Linked DNA regions of Homo sapiens: all the other regions are linked to region 1. Evidence: promoter capture Hi-C in human tissues and cell types (Jung and others, 2019). All regions are on one chromosome and are shown on one strand. The core of a region is centred on a gene start or on the middle of the fragment in contact, and the rest is flanking DNA. Distances in the headings are between cores, read along the strand shown. Region 1 holds the start of TBX2 (T-box transcription factor 2). Region 2 overlaps BCAS3 (BCAS3 microtubule associated cell migration factor). Region 3 overlaps BCAS3 (BCAS3 microtubule associated cell migration factor). Region 4 has its middle 7.9 kb from the start of NACA2.

Evidence for each region. The method cuts DNA at HindIII sites, captures the fragments that hold promoters and counts their contacts. A contact is called where the count stands out against the background at its distance.
Region 2: a fragment that was not itself captured here is called in contact with the fragment with the promoter of TBX2 in region 1 in 1 of the 25 tissues and cell types used here (adrenal gland).
Region 3: a contact is called between a fragment that was not itself captured here and the fragment with the promoter of TBX2 in region 1, in 2 of the 25 tissues and cell types used here (IMR-90 fibroblasts and mesendoderm cells).
Region 4: a fragment that was not itself captured here is called in contact with the fragment with the promoter of TBX2 in region 1 in 2 of the 25 tissues and cell types used here (mesendoderm cells and thymus).

What each region holds. Positions count from the first base shown.
Region 1 is chr17:61,398,558-61,401,147 of GRCh38, reverse strand. It overlaps TBX2 (T-box transcription factor 2), which reads right to left and starts at 1,305. Exons shown (of 7, transcript NM_005994.4): 1 at 577-1,305. The coding sequence starts at 971. TBX2-AS1 (TBX2 antisense RNA 1) reads left to right here and starts at 1,542. Exons shown (of 2, transcript NR_125751.1): 1 at 1,542-1,909. RefSeq lists a cis regulatory region at 1,221-1,232 and promoters at 1,221-1,468, 1,088-2,348. The HindIII fragment of the contact is 8,441 bases long and covers 1-2,590 here.
Region 2 is chr17:61,154,534-61,157,123 of GRCh38, reverse strand. The region is part of intron 22 of BCAS3 (BCAS3 microtubule associated cell migration factor); the gene reads right to left. Among named protein-coding and RNA genes, the nearest start is that of BCAS3-AS1, 20 kb to the right of the region's middle. The HindIII fragment of the contact is 4,324 bases long and covers 1-2,590 here.
Region 3 is chr17:61,170,803-61,173,392 of GRCh38, reverse strand. The region is part of intron 22 of BCAS3 (BCAS3 microtubule associated cell migration factor); the gene reads right to left. Among named protein-coding and RNA genes, the nearest start is that of BCAS3-AS1, 36 kb to the right of the region's middle. The HindIII fragment of the contact is 7,372 bases long and covers 1-2,590 here.
Region 4 is chr17:61,597,861-61,600,450 of GRCh38, reverse strand. No RefSeq gene overlaps it. Among named protein-coding and RNA genes, the nearest start is that of NACA2, 7.9 kb to the right of the region's middle. The HindIII fragment of the contact is 4,338 bases long and covers 1-2,590 here.

The sequences.
Region 1 (2,590 bases), core at 56-2,555:
GCTTTCTTCAGGCTTTAAGGCCTGGGGCGGCGGATGCGTCCAGGGCTCGGATGCCCGCGGTGGAGAAAGGGCTCCCAGCCCGGTGAGGCGGAGGGCTCGGCTGACCCGGGGCTCGCTGCCAGGAACCGAGCAACCAGCGTGGGGTTAGCTGGGCCCAGGTCCCACTAGGGGCTTCGGGGTCGGAGCAGAGTCTGAGAGAGGCTGAATTTCCCCCGAGCTCGGAGACGGACCCGGACGCAGAAGAGCGAGAGCGCGGGGCGGAGGAGACCGCCAGGGCCAAGCCGCGGGGCCTCCTCTGCGCTGGGACTCAGAACGGTTGGGGCTATTCTTTAGCAGTATGTTTTCGTTTTATTTCATTCGGAGGATTTTAGCGTTTTTGTTTTAAAAAAAAATCGCTCCGGTGCCAAACGAGAAAAGTCAACTTGGTTGTCCGTGGGAGCGAAGCGTGGCGTCAGGGCCAGAACCTGGAGCCGGGAGCCGGGAGCCGGGAGTCCCCAGCTCTGCTCTGATCCGTGCAGTCCCGTGCCCCAGCCCGCCCGCCCGCCCGCGCGCCTTCCAGCCGGCCGGCAGCCCTACCTCCCGGACTTGGTGATGACCATCTCCGTGCCTAGCTTGTGGAACTGGTCCCACAGCTCCTTGGCCTCCAGCGTCACCTTGGGGTCGTCCTCCACCTCGTCCTCGGGCTCCAGGCTCTTGAGGGAGCGCAGATGCGCGGCGGGCGGGTGCGGGCCCAGTGCCGAGACGTGCAGCCCCGCCTCGGCCGCTGCTGCCGCCGCCGCCGCCGCGGCCGCCGCCCCCGCCAGGCCCGGGTCGGGCAGCGGCTTGGCCAGCGCGCCGGGCGGCAGCGCGAGTGCCGGGAAGAAGGAGGGCTGCGCCGCCGCCAGAAAGGCGGACATGGGGAAGTCGGCGGGCCGTGGCGCGTGGAACGGGTGGTAAGCCATGGCGCTGGCCGCCAGCGCCGGCTCTCTCATCGGGACATCCGGCCCAGGCGCCCGGGGGCCGGGGCCGGGGCCGGGGGCGCGCGGCTCGGACCCCCGGCCCGGGCGGCGGCGCGCGCGGTGGACGGACGACCCGGGTGGCGGGCGCAGCAGCTGCTCCTCGGGGCTTCCCGTCCGGCGCACCGCAAGGGGCACCCGGCTCTGTGCGCGGGGGCGGCGGGGGCTCTGCGCGGGGCCGGGCTGGGCCGGGCTGAGCTGGCCCGCTCCGGCGCCGGGGACCACGCGCGACTGGTTAGATCTTGTCGTGATCTCTGGAAAACTGTGACTATCTCACATGTCCTGCCCAGCTCGGATCCCCTGCGCTAACGAGCCAGGCCCCCCTTGATTGCTGATTTTACGCTTTTTGGACCAATTGTGGGTCTCCGGGGGCGGGGTTTTGACAGCTCAGGCCAAGCTCCGGCCGGGAGGGGGGGCCTGGGAGAAGGTGTCGGAAGCCTCAGCAGTAAGAAAACATGTCAACAGAATAAAATATTAACCAATGACGGGCCGCCGGGCCCCGAGACCCCTCCTCCTGCCCCGGCCCCCACCGCCCGCCCGCGCCTGCGGCTGCCTGCGCCGGACTGGAGAGCGCGGAGGGCCGACCTGACCCGCCGAAAGGGCCTGAGGCGAGGGGAGCCCGGGTCCCGGGGCCTTGGGGAAGGACCCGCAGCCGCACGCCGGCCCCAAGTGCAAAGCATTGACACGACCCCGAGCGGAGAGGGGGCGCCCTCCTTCTCCCGCGCCCAGAGGCCCGGCCGCTCTGGCCCGAGCCCCAGCCTGGCCTCCGACCCAGCTCCGGGTCGTGGCGCCGCCTGGGGGTCCCTGCGCCCCGGAAAGAGACAGCAGGCACTGGAAAGCGAGGCCGGTGGGCGGGCGAGTCGGGAGGCTCGGGCGGCCGAGGTCCGGGAGCGGATCCCAGGTGGCGGGAGCTGGTGAGTGGAGCCATGGCCGAGCCCTGCTGGGGCCGGCGCGGGCGGGAGCGGGACGCGGCCTTGCGCTGGGGAAACGCGGGGACCCCCTACCCGCGCCCGCCTTCACCGGAAGACTCGGAAGGAACCTGGAGTTCTCCGCAGGCCCGGGCCCCGCCCTGAGCTTTCCAGCGGCCGGGAGGAGCGGATCCTCGGGGCCAGGAAGGTGAGCGCACCTTTCGCTGAGCACAGGGCGGCACCGCGCGGGCGGACCCCGGATTCTCCACCCGCGACCCAACGAATTTTCGCCCTATCCGGTACCGGAGACGAAAGTCTCCTTCTTCCGAAATACCGGCTTCCTCTCTTCGCCCTGCCAACCACTTTTTTAGTTTCTTCTCATCTCTCGGAAGCGCACGTCTCCTAAGTTAAGGAGTGCTGAGTAACGCGTGAGGGAGTTGGGGTGTCTGCGAGCACCTGTGATTGAAGCCCCCTCTTCTGTGATCAGTCTTCGTTTTCTGTCTTCCGGCAGCCTCAGTTTCCCCCCCATGAAGTGATGGTGTGTGTGTGTGTGTGTGTGTGTGTGTGTGTGTGTGTGTGTGTGTCGGGCCCCGTGTGGTGCCCTCTGTGCGCAGCGAGAGCTATAACTCAAGGTGTGCACGGGGAGAGTGAAGCGACCACGCACCTGCTTCCAATCGGGCTCGGGCG
Region 2 (2,590 bases), core at 54-2,553, 240 kb after region 1:
GAAAGCAAAGAAACAGGAAAGAAAAGTTAAAATTAATCCATCCCAAACAGCCTCAGACAAGGAGTCCAGAGCAAAGAGAAAGTTCAATGATTTCGAGATTAACCACATTTGCTTTTTAAAACAAATACGTATTTTGAAATTTAATACTAAATTTATAGGAGAGTGATGCCTCAACTGTTTAAATGTTGTAGAATTTGTTTTTTTTAAGTGTTGTTTCAAAGGAAAAATAATTGCAAATATTAAATTGTGTCAATTACCTAAATCATTCATAAAGGAGTCCATCGTTGAGGTGGTCTGTATGTACCAGCTTCAGGGCATTAACTTATATCCACACTGCAGATTTTTTGTGTGCATGTGAATTTTTTTAGGAGTTACTTATGGTTTATAGCAGGATAGAAACAATTATTGTTATGTGCCAATTAGGATTCCAAGGATTCACATCCACAGGTTACTCATCAACTACAAAAAGACACAGTTTCATATTTAAAAATCCCTCTGAAATTTCTTACCAAATGATGAAACTCGACATAAAAATAAAAGGGGAGGCAGGGGTTGGGTAGGGAGAAGGTGAGAGAGAGAAGCAAGCCCGTTCCAACCTCAGTCTGAACCTACAAAACCAAAGAGACCATTTCAGGTAAGGACACTCAAGGAAAACAGGATCCTCCACAAAGCACGTATTTCCATTTCTCTATCTCATTTTGGCAGACCAAATATTACTCTAAGTTTCCCCCAAAAGAAACAAGATAAAACAAAAGTCCACCTTTCTCCCGAACTCAGAAAATGAAGAGGGAAAGAGAAGGTGCCTGAGATTCCAGTTTTAGACCTAAGGAATTTTACCAGGCTCAATTCCAATCCCTGAAAAGAAGACCAAAATGAATACATTGACCCAAACTTTAACCAGAGAATTAGGCTTAGTAACAACTCAGATTTTACTTTTCTTTTTTTTTTTTTTAATGTGTCTGGCTGACTGTCTTTCTCTGTCTCTCTGCGTTTGTTTGTGGTGCATACCGAGTAAATTATTTGCTGATAGGTGAATCTCAGCAAATGCTTTTCTTCCTTTGAATGCCTGGTGAGCTTGTTGGGAAAAGTCATTTAAGTCACTTTAAACAATACCATGAAAAGTAAAACTCAATTCTGAAATAAGAGTATAACTTAGAGCTTAAAAATAAATTAAATAAAGGAAGCATTAAAAGATAAATGGAGCAGGATGCTCTGTGGCTGAGGTAATCTGAGTGGAGAGGGAAGAAGGAGGGTTATGTTAATAAATGATTAAAAGGCCTTAACAAGGGCCTATCAGGTTGAACAGGAAAGCATTCTTCTTCTCTGCTCCTCCCTGAGACCACCTTTTTTACATTTGTTCTCAATGCTGATCAATATGGTTTTCATTTGCTGATTTCCATAATGCCATATGTGATCTGCCAGGCTGACATAATGAAGCTAGAAAGAGCTGAAGTCATTTTAACATTCTCGCTTGTATGACTGTCGCCAGTTTACCAAATGCCTGTTATCTGGGAGCCTGTATCTCTCTCTTGTTTATTGACAAATAGAGAGGTTCGCTCCTAGAGAGAGCAGCTCTGGGTGACCAATTTAAGATTCAAACTAAATATTAGACTTTTTTTTTTTTTTTTTGCTACCACTCTAACCTGTTATTTAAGCTTGATTAAATAAAAACAAGATTTAAGTGTGAATTATCCTTTTCTGAACACAAGTGCTCACTTCTGTTGATAAAACAATAAATCACAAAAAATAAAGCACCAATACTTTGATGCCACCAAAGCCTCAGGACATATTTATTGCCCCAATTCAAATTTTCCTATAAATACAGTGTTTTCGTTGGCCCACTAGTATTTGTCTCTGATAACTTTTACCAAAATTCATATCAAACTGTGTGTTTTAAAATTTTTTACTCTTTACTAAAGTTTCTTTAATCCATGCTCTGGCAGGAAGAAACTTAAAAAAAAATCATATGTAAGCTTCGTACACTTTTTTCATTGTATAATAAAATGGGTTTGTTGAGGTCATCACATAAGTGACCCAGGCAAGAGCCTTCCACGATGCCTGACATGTCTCATTAAAAATTCTCTGTATTGTTTGTTGATCACTTTTCCATACTCAAAAGAAAATTTCAAGAAAAAATGCAAATAGAAAAACATTTCTGAAATGATTTATCTTTTGCAAGCCAAACACCCCCCACCAAAAAAAAAAAACCAGTTGCATTTGATCAAAAGGATACTTCAACATTGTAATTTAAGAGTAAAAATATATTTAGTGCCTTCATTTACAATAAATGTAATTCCTTTTTTACATTAAACACATTAAATAAATATTCTGATGATTAACAGAAGTCACGTTTTAGTTCTCAAGAACAAAATCCCTCTGAGGCTGGGCGCGGTGGCTCATGCCTGTAATCCCAGTACTTCAGGAGACCCATGTGGGGAGGGTCGCTTAAGCTCAGGAGTTTGAGACCAGCCTGGGCAATGTAGAGAGATCTCATCTATAGAAAAAAATAAAAAGTAAAAAAATTAGTCAGGTGTGGTGGTGCACACTGTGGTCCCAGCCACTGGGGTGGCTGAGTTGGGAGAACTGCTTG
Region 3 (2,590 bases), core at 52-2,551, 230 kb after region 1:
ACTGCAACCTCTGCCTCTCGGGTTCAAATGATTCTCATGCCTCAGCCTCCCAAGCAGCTGGGACTACAGGTGTGCACCACCATGCCTGGCTAATTTTTTCTATTTTTAGTAGAGATGGGATTTCAGTGTTGGCCAGGCTGGTGTCAACTCCTGGCTTCAACTGATCCTCCCGCCTTGGCCTCCCAAAGTGCTAGGAATAACAGGCATGAGCCACCGTGCCCAGCCTCAAAACAATTTCTAATTTTCCTTTTTATTTCTTAAATCCATGAGTTATTTAGATGTGCTAGGTTCCAAATATTTGGTGATTTTTCCAAATCCCTTAAGGCTACTGATTTCTAATTTAATTCCATTGTGGTCAGAAGACACTTTGTATGACTTAAATCCTATTTATTTATTTATTTATTTGAGATGGAATCTTGCTCTGTCGCCCAGGCTGGAGTGCAGTGGCGTCATCTCAGCTCACTGCAAGCTCCGCCTCCCGGGTTCACGCCATGCTCCTGCCTCAGCTTCCCAAGTAGCTGGGACTACAGGTGCCCACCGCCACGCCCGGCTAATTTTCTTTTTGTATTTTTAGTAGAGATGGGTTTCACCGTGTTAGCCAGGATTGTCTCGATCTCCGGACCTCGTGATCCGCCCGCCTTGGCCTCCCAAAGTGCTGGGATTAAAGGCATGAGCCACCGCGCCCAGCCAATCCTTTAGATTTATTGAGGCTTGCTTTAGGACTCAGAATATGAATTATTTTCATTATTATTTTTTGAGACGGAGTCTCGCTCTGTCGCCCAGGCTGGAGTGCAGTGGTGCGATCTCAGCTCACTGCAAGCTCTGCCTCCTGGGTTCACGCCCTTCTCCCTCCTCAGCCTCCCGAGTAGCTAGGACTACAGGCGCCAGCCACTAAGCCCGGCTAATTATTTTTTTGTATTTTTAGTAGAGACGGGGTTTCACCGTGTTAGCCAGGATGGTCTCGATCTCTGGACCTCGTGATCCGCCCGCCTCGGCCTCCCAAAGTGCTGGGATTAGGCGTAAGCCACCACGCCCGGCCAGAATATGAATTATTATAGTAAATAGTTTGTGTGCACTTGGAAAGAAGGTGGTTCTGCCGTTGGTAGTGTTTTTTGTTTTTCAGTAAATGTCAACTAGATTAAGTTGGTGATTAGTGTTATTCTAAATATTCTATCTCCTTCTTGCTGATTCTTTGTCTATTCTATTGAGGACTGAGAAAGAGATGTTGAATCTCCAACTATAATTGTGTGTTCACCCAATTCTACATGTAGTTCTATCAGTTTTGTTTCATGTGTTTTGAAGCTCTGTAATGAGGCAAACATTCAGAACTGATATGTTCTCTTCACGAACTGACCCCTTTGTAATTATGAAATGTTTCCTTATTCTGTGATAATATTCTTTGTTCTGAAGTCTACTTTGTCTATTAATATAGCCATTCCTGCTTTTTAAAGCTTCCTGTTTGCTGGGTATGGTGGCTCACACTGGTAATCGTAACACTTTGGAAGGCCAAGGTGAGAGAATCACTTAATTCCAGAAGTTCAAGAACAGCCCGAACAACACAGTGAGACTCCATTTCTACAAAAAAAAAAAAAAATTTTTTTTTAATTAGCAGGGCATGGTGGCACATGCCTGAAATCCCAGCTACTCAGGAGGCTGAAGCAGGAGGATGACTTGAGCCCAGGAGTTTGAGGCTGCAGTGAGCTGTAATCATGTCACTGCATATCAGCCTTGGCAACAGACGCTGTTTCAAAAAAAAAATAAAATAAAATTAGTATTAGCATAATATATCATTATTTCTATCCTTTTACTTTTGTCCTATTCATGTCTTTATATTTAGGTGAGATTTTTATGGGCAAGATGTAGGTGATTCTTGCCTTTTTTATCCAATCTTACATTTCCTGTCTTTTAATTGAGTGTTTAGACCATTTACATTCAATATGACTTTTGATATGGCCAAGTTTAAATCTACCATCTTGCTAAATGTTTTCTATTAGTTCATACATTTATTCTTTGTTCCATTTTTTTCTTTTTGGTTCCCATGTGTTGTTTTGGATCTACTGAATATTTTTAGGATGCCATTTTTATCTCATTTGTTAACTGATTAGCTACACCTATGTTACTTTAGAGGCTGCTTTAGAATGTATAGCATATATTTGTAACTTATCCAAGTCTACACATTTAGGATGTATTATATCACTTCATGTACAGTGTAAGAACCTTACAACATTTTTCTCTTTATCACTGATTATAAGCGACTTAATTAGGAGGTGCCGTGGGTCTTGCTTTTTTTTAAGCAAGGAAGGCTACAGGAATTTAGAGGAAATTTTGCCCCACTTTTGACACAAAAATCTTGTATCACTTTACCTGCAAATTATGAGATTTTCCAATCTGGCTAATGGGAACAGAAATCACTCCCAGCCCTGCATAAGCTCCAGCGAATGTTCCCTCTGATCTTTTTAAGTGGCTCTTTCCTGGGCCTTGGGTAGTTTCCCATGTGCTCAGCTGAAGGCTTGCAGGATGTCCTCTGTAGATCTCTAGAATGTTCTCTCTCCGTGTACAGCTCTTTCCTCTCGGGGACTCTGCCCTGTGA
Region 4 (2,590 bases), core at 44-2,543, 200 kb before region 1:
GAAGATTGAATTTCAGATAGCCAAAGAAACATCAGATGCCCACCACAGAGGGGGAAGTCTAGGATGACTCCCTTTCTCAGACAATAGAGTTCTTGGACTTTACAAACACAAATATCTGGTTAACCCTCTTTAACAGTTAAGAGTCCAAATGATAGAAACATAAAAAACATCTTTACTCAAGGACCTGAGCTCTTTGCAGACTTTCTAGCTGAAAACAATTCAATTGTTGGGGGGCACACCCTTCAACAAATGAAAAATCAATTTTGGGACAAGATAAAGTATAGTCCCAAGTGCATACTAACGGGTTGGCAGCCAAGTACTTCTAACCTTCTGCACTTAGAGCCCTCTTTAACTCTCTTAAAGACTGAAAGACATCTTCTTTAGTTCTCCTATTATCAAAACTATTAAATTCAGCCTCTCAGCGACCTCTAAGTCTAGACAGCATTTTCTGTTGTCTGCCCCACCAAACTCATTATTAAACTTTCCTTCCTACACAATGTCCTCCCTCTCTCCCTTCCTTTTCTTCCTTCTCTGATCCAAGTAAGCAGTACTGTGGAATTTGAGGTCAGAAGCATGTGCTATTGCATAGGGGTACACCATTGAGAGGGATAACTTTTAGACTTAAGGACCTGCCATCTGCAACCAAACAACATCTAGAGAGCTGGGCATCTAATGTTCCACTTCGTGAGCATTAAGGGTGAATGCTATTCGTACTCTGGTCAAAAGCCCAGCCATTAGGAGTTCCAGAGAACAAATTCAACGTGGAAAATCCTGTAGTATTTAGAAAATTGGAATTGGTTCTCTAATTAAGTGATGATTAAATCTGTGATCCTCTTTGAAGACATAGCACTATTATCTGGACACAGCTCTGGAAGGTACATTTGTGAAGATGAGCCTGGATAAATGGGAACTACTCTAATAAGCTGAGATCTTTTAACAAACATGTTGGGGACAAAACGAATGTGGAAAGACTTATCCGTCCTAGTTAAGAGACTGTGATCTTTTGATCTCCGATCCCACAGTCACCTGTCAATGCAACACTTAGAAGCCATTTCAGATACCTTCTTAAGATTGCAGCTATCTGTGGATGGGGTCTGAACCATGCTTCAGCTTGCCCTATTCCCTTACCTAGTATAGATCCTTGTCCCTAATTTTGAGGCTCAGTCTGCCTGCTGCTTTAGTGAGTTCCAATCTAAATTAATCCCATTGTTTGTGCAATTTTTGATTACTGTTTTGCAATTACCCTTTTTCTGGTCCCTGCCATTTGACCGTGCCACTTGCTTAATTTTATCACAACCCCAATTTACACCATAGAGAAACTAATTTAACGTCTCTTAGTATTTGTAGGCAGGTCTAAGAGCAAAGCCTACACTGGTGAATAACTTCCCACCGGTTTTGAAGATCATCAGTGCAACTAAACCAATGAACACTTTTTAAAGGATGTAATGCCTGAAAGTAATATGATTGGCACTGAAGAGGAAGACAATACAAAGAACAGTCATGGTTCTTGCCTTCAAATAGCTTACTGTCTAGTGAGGGAGACAGCAATAGAAGCAATTAAATACAGTGTAAGTTGATGGAAAACAAGTCCAAAAAGCACCTGATTATACAGAGAGAGGAGTGGCCAGATGAGAACAGGGAAGACTTCACAAAGGAGTTAGAATGGGAGGCCAAGGCAGGAGGATTGCTTGAAGCCAGGAGTTCAAGACCAGCCTGGGCAACACAGGGAGACCCAGTTTCTTAAAACAAACAAACAAACTCAAAATAAGAGCAAATGTTTATATAGTATCATGTACCAGGTACAGGTACTGCTCTGAATGCTTTACATATATTAACTCACTTTAAATTATTTTAATAGGATTTTAATATATAACTATAGAGGGAAGAGCATAAGTCAGACACAAAAGCCTAACTCATAAATTCTTTCTCATCTGTAAAAGGGGTTAGACTAATATTATCTCCTTCTCAAAACTGATCAGAAAACTATCTAGATTAGACTGATTGGAGAAGTAAGCCAGGTGGCCGAATAGAGATACCCTGAAACAAGATCTTGTTTCAGGGTATCTCTGTGTTTATTCTCTGTACTACAAAAAGCTAGATTATGGAGCCACTTTACCTACCTGTAACTGTGGCCTTATATTATTTTTTACGTATAAATCTCAACAAGTAGTACAGGATTTTTTTCCCATTCAAACAAGATAAGTATTTAAGGGTGTGTTGCTGTAGACACAAGGGAAGTACAAGAGAAAGAAAGGGCTACTTTCCCCAGCCACGAGCACAGGAAAAAGCCCTAAGCCCTTGGGTAGAGGCAACAAAAGCAGGAGTTTAGTATTTCATCACAGAACCCAAGAGAATAATCTCTAATTATCCAGGTAGGGAAGAAAAGACACTTAGACCATTTGTCTAATGCTATGGAAGGAGCTGGTGTTGGGCAATGGATTAAATCTAATTCAGCTAATATATTTGATCAGATGCAGTTAGAATAACCTTTCAGGTTTAGACTGAGGGACTCAGGTTGCTAAATAAGCAGGAGGTAGAACGCATGACTCTGATAATTGTGGCTAATTTTGAACTACCATATCCTGCCTGT